Linked DNA regions of Homo sapiens: region 1 is linked to region 2. The links are contacts of gene promoters, found by promoter capture Hi-C in human tissues and cell types (Jung and others, 2019). All regions are on one chromosome and are shown on one strand. Each heading gives the region's core, a stretch centred on a gene start or on the middle of the fragment in contact. The rest is flanking DNA. Distances are from core to core; before and after follow the strand shown.

The links. Contacts are between HindIII fragments. The study calls those that stand out against the background at their distance.
Region 1: a contact is called between a fragment that was not itself captured here and the fragment with the promoter of DTX4 in region 2, in 1 of the 25 tissues and cell types used here (bladder).

Annotation. Positions count from the first base shown.
Region 1 is chr11:58,724,706-58,727,416 of GRCh38, reverse strand. All of the region lies in intron 1 of GLYAT (glycine-N-acyltransferase), which reads left to right. Among named protein-coding and RNA genes, the nearest start is that of GLYAT, 5.9 kb to the left of the region's middle. The HindIII fragment of the contact is 6,338 bases long and covers 1-2,711 here.
Region 2 is chr11:59,170,721-59,173,420 of GRCh38, reverse strand. DTX4 (deltex E3 ubiquitin ligase 4) reads right to left here and starts at 1,289. Exons shown (of 9, transcript NM_015177.2): 1 at 615-1,289. The coding sequence starts at 825. LOC124902601 (basic proline-rich protein-like) reads left to right here. Exons shown (of 2, transcript XM_047427951.1): 1 at 1-156; 2 at 691-2,700. The coding sequence ends at 1,499. RefSeq lists enhancers at 223-332, 1-603, 1,231-1,525, 1,612-2,152 and silencers at 673-722, 783-1,352. The HindIII fragment of the contact is 18,272 bases long and covers 1-2,700 here.

The sequences.
Region 1 (2,711 bases), core at 20-2,519, 450 kb after region 2:
AAATTGTCTTGCACACCTACCAAACTGTCTGGCTTGAAGACAAGTCTGCCTCTTCTTTTACTTCACATGCCATGTGACTTCTTAAACACACACTTCCTGTTATTCATGCACCCATGGCTCTTATTGCATTTGTGCAGCAGCAAAGATAAGAGCTCCCTTGCAGACATCCCCCAAAATTTATAGGTGTTTTTATCCTACAAGCTTGGATGACCTCCAATCCTGTCCCTATCTGTTGGTACATTGCCAAAAAAGACACTAATTGAAACCCCAGCTCTGCCAGTGCTTTATGATTTAACATATGCTTTTTGTTCCTGTCACAACCTAGGGCCAAGTTTTTCTGGGGTTTTTGAAACAGTTTGTCCTCCTGCATAGGGCTATGACACTTTAAGGATCTCACCTACTTGCTTTTTTCTTTTTTTTTTGAGTCAGCACTTCTTAAGGGGAGGGGAAATTCTTCCTTTACCATTAGCAAGTTCTTGCCCTAAGTCCCAAGGCCTCCAGAGGTTCCTCCTTTATGTCGAGGGCAAATAAACATTGCTCTCTCAAATCCAAGCATTGCTGTTTTTGTAAGCATATGAAGGCTTTTCATGAGGTTTTTCTCGCTTCCTCCTACTTCCTCCTGTAGTCTCCATTTCTCTAATCACTCCTACTCCCTTTTCAATATGCTGCAAGACCTTCAAGGTCATATTTAAAGGGAGGGAAGTCCAGCCCCCTTATGGCAGTTATTTTCTTTGTAATACTTGGCCTAAGAATGGAATGAGAGAAAATTACAAAAGTCAATCTTGGAACCCAGTACCCTTATGCAGGAAATTCTCAAATTAGCCTTCTCAGTCTTTTATAATGAAGAACAGAATAAGGAGGACAGGGCTAAGAAAAAGTAGAAATGCAGGGACCAGAGGCAGGTATATTGTCTTCTCAATACTCAAGAGTCACCCTTCTACAGGGGACCCCTAGGCTGCCCATCAGTGAGACATGACAGAATTGAAATCCTCCCCCTGTCCCCCTTGAACCTGGCTGGCTACTACTGCCCTGACAGCTAGCAAGAGGCCAAATCCACAGAACAACCACTACTACCCCTCTGTCAGCAGGAAGCAGTTATAGAAGACTGACCTTTGTCTATATTCCCCAAATAATTGGGGTCTTGAACTCATGGTGGGGGAAATGTTACACAAGGTAGATAGTCAGGCATGAGTAGGGCAGGAGAAGGCTCCATGCCCCACATCCCACACCCAGATATGTCAGGCAACCATCAGGTGATGGTCCAGTGGTTGTTAACTGTCTCTCTAAAATAATAATTGGTCACAGCCAGTGCCAGCCAGGTTCAGTCTCCGAATACAAAAAAAAACCAAACCTGAAAATGGTGATCAGCAGCTTCCTGACAAGACCTCAGGAGTTGGGCAAGCAGGCTTAAGCATGTGCATTCAGAGGCAAAATGACAGAGTTTAATTATGATATGAACTTCTAGGGACATTTGACTGGTAAGGGAGAATGCCTTAAGTTAGCATGCATACAACTCTATGCTCACACTACACATGCTCACCTCCCACATGCTAGCAGGCTGCTGAACATGTGGACAGCCCACCCCCATGGGAAGAATCAGGGGAGAATGGACACAAGACCCCAAAATTATGCCTACATATAAAACTCAGTCAAAAGGTCCAACTGCACACTTGATCTCTCAGGTCGCCCACTTGGCCCCCTTCCAAATGCACTTTACTTCTTTTCCCTCCTGCTCTGATGTTTTTAACAAACATTTACTGCTACCCCAAAACTTGCCTTGGTCTCTCCTTCTGCCTTCTGCCCCTCAGTCAAATTCTTTCTGTTGAGGAGGCAAGAATTGAGGATGCTACAGACCTGTACAGATGCACCACCAGTAAAGGCTTTTCACTGATGTTCTAAAATCACAAGGTTACCTAGTTATGGAATCTTGCATCAGACCAGTTTTAATGCAACACTCTCTCATAGCCCTACCTTCACTTAGAAGTTACTTTGCTCTCTTCCAAACATCACAGTTCCAAAATAGAACACAGTGACACAACATCTTTCTTCATTTTTCAGGTAGTTGTGATGTTATGAAGTGTTTAGGTAATCCCAATTTGATGCAGCTAGTCAAATATGTAAAAATGCTATTTTTGTATTACTTAGTAATTTCTACAAAATGTACCACAGATCCTAGTATAAGGCTTAAAGATGGAATTAGCCTCAAAGTGTGAGGCTTGGTGAAAGTACAAGTTTTGAATATGATGCAGTAATAATTTTTGAAAGGTTAATTGTTTATATTTAGACCATGTCAGAATGCCCTTTATTAAAATGCCTATATCAAAACATCATGCAATATATAGGACTTTGGCTCAAGTGGGGGAAAGAAGAAAAGGAAGAGGAGGAAAAGAGGAGTGGTGGTAGTAATCAAATAAATAACAAATGTTCAGTGCTTAATATAAGACCTACAATCTACTAAGCACATTGCAGGTATTCATTCCTTTAATCCTTACAAAAATTCTGAGTGATATAGTGCTATTATCCCAACTACCTTTGAGGAAACCAAGGTACAGAGAGACTAAATAACTTTCCCAAGGTTACACAGCTCGTTCTCAGAGGAGTCAGGAGAATCACTAATAGCAACTAAAATTCAAAAGATATTATGTGTATTTAAAAATGTACTTTTTAAATCTAAAATGAAATTAATGGCTGGAATTCATCAAAGGGTAAGA
Region 2 (2,700 bases), core at 40-2,539:
GCCCTAGTCTCTCCTCCCAGGGAGCCCGGCGCTTCCCTTACCCGACTGTAGCGAGAACCTCCGGGGAATCCCTTCTTCCTCCCCCAGTTCCCACACCCAGGACCCAGCTGCGGGGAGGCATCCCACACAGGAGACGCAGAGGCAGTGAGATCGGGGGTGAGGGGACGTGTGGCAAGCCCCAGCGTGCCTGAAGCAAAACAGGGTCAGGTCAGCCAAGGTGCCGGCCGCCACGGGATGAGGGCAGGAAGCCTTTGCGAAGGGCTGGGATTGCCTGTAGTCTGGGGCGGCCCTAGAATTTCTACATAGAAAGACTTAGGGCCACCAACTGCTGAAAAGCGGGGGCATGAAAGGGGTGGGGAGTGGATTGTTACCGACTAGGTTGAAGCTGGGTTTGCAAAACCACAACACTGATACTATTTGCATGGATGTTTAAGGGGGAGGGAGGATCCTGCGAGGATTCAGCGGAGTGAATCGCCTCCCACCACCACCTCTTGGTGACACTGCTGCACAGAAGTGCCGACTAGGTGGCCAAGGTGGGTTCACAGGGAGGGAGGTACCTTGGCAGGTTGGGAAGGTGGGAGCAGGCGGGGCGGGGTCAGGGGCGGCTGGCTCACCCGTGTCTTGGCGGAACTGGTTCATGGACTGCAGGTCGATGATGTAGGGCGCGAGACGGCTGTCCACCTGGCCCAGCACCACGCTGCCCCCCGCGCGGGGGCCGGCGCGGACCACCGCCTCGATGTGGTGGCTCACCGCTGGGCTGTAGGGACGCCAGCGGCCGTGCTCGTTCAGCCATTCCCAGACCACCACGGCCGAGGCCAGGAGCATGGCGAGCCCGGGGCTGCGGCGCTGCGCGGCCCGCCTCCCGGGCCCCGAGCGCCCGACCTCCTCCGCTTCCTCCTGCGCCGCCGCCTCCGGGCCTCGACCGCGCCCCCTGCCCCGCGCCCCGCCGCCCCGGGCAGCCTCAGCTCCGGCCCATGGGCTCCTCCCCAGCCGTGCATCCACCGGGGCCGGGACACCGGGGCCGCCTGGCTGGGACCGCGCGCCGCCGCCGCCGCCGGGGTCCGCTGCTGCTGCCGCTGCTCTGTGGGGTCGAGTCGCTTCATGCAAATGCCCGGCTCTCTGCAAACAGGCCCCCGCCTTGCAAAAGCCACTCGGCGGGCGCGCGGCCCGAGCCCCGGCGGCCGCGAGCTGGGGCTGACGGCGAGGCAAGGACCCAGCCCTCGCACCAGTTGCGCCTCGGCCTCTGCAGACGCCGGGGTGGGATCTCGCCGCACGGCCGCGCTCGGAATGGCACGCTCTGGTCCCCTCCCCTCTCTCCCTCCCTCCCCACCCCTTCGCCGCACGAATTGCAGTCCCCGCCGCTGGGAGAGCTCCCCCTGCCTGTGGCTCTGCTCAGTTCCTTCCAGAATGAACCACCCCTCCCAAGCAGGGCGCTAAGGCAAACCCGCGCCCGCGTGTGTTTCCCTGGTTCCTTGATGCAGAGAAGCGACCCGCCATGACACGGCCCCGGGACCACCACTGTCGCCCAGCCGCAACTTTGCAGCCTCCTTCCCCCAAATGTAATTTTCTCTCTCTCTCTCTTTTTTTTTCCTTAATGCAGCATGATCAGTGTCCGCAGCGCGAACTGGAGACACGCATTGTCTCGGGGCTTGCGCACGCACTGGCACACTCACAGTCGCACACACACGCGCGCGCACCCCAACTCCTTCCTTGCCCCGGCTCCTATTACCTCATCCTCTCCCGCATCCTTAGCTGTCCGTCAAGGAAGCAGAAGACACGCCCCCTGCTGCTCGGGCGAGTGCCCTGGAGCTTACCCGCCCCCTGCTGGCCTAAAGTGTCGTGTGCCGGCCAGTGGCCACTCCAACCTCTGCTAATGAGACCCAGTCCAAAGGGATGCAGCAATTTCGCTAATGATGGATTTATATTACCTACGTAGAGAGCAAATGTGGTTTTTCTGGCCAGATTCAACGTACTAGAGTCAGGAAGACGCATGTTAGATTAATTTTATCTGCATCGTTTCTGTAACTAAAATTATGAAACACTAGGAAAAACACGAGTTAGACTTATTTTGATCATCAATAGTTAATATGGAAAATAACCTTAAATAGGTAGGTTCTGACTAAAAGGGAAGACTGAAGTCAGGATTATGCATTATCCTTGTCAAAGAACACAAATTTTGTTTTGTTGAGATTGCAAACCACATAAAACAACGAATCGAGTCTTATCAAGATCCAAGTTATAGGATGCGGGAAAGTAAAAATAGATTATGTGTTAGAGAATGGGATTGTGAATCTTTTTGAAATAATCAATTTTTTCATAAATATCATATGACCCTTTTATGTTTTAGAAGAGTTGCTTCCCCCTCCCTCTCCTTGCAGCTGTCATTTCTCCCATTGTTAGAATTTTGCATCCTTCTACCTTTATCTTTCTCCCAACAGAGTTCTAAATACAAAGCAAAAGAAAAAGTGTGAGATCTGTTCTTCTTCAGGCCCCTAAAGGCACCAGGCTCAAGGAACCTCTGAGCTTTGTTCTTTCTGGTCTTCTTGCACAGCTTGGCCTCCAAAATGCCTAGTCGGCCTCTCCCTTATTTGGGGACTGTTCCTAATCCAACCTAAACAATACCACTCATTAAAATGTCGAGTTTCAGAATTAGAAGAACAAAAAGAAAACAAGGATACCTCGACTAATTATATCATAGGC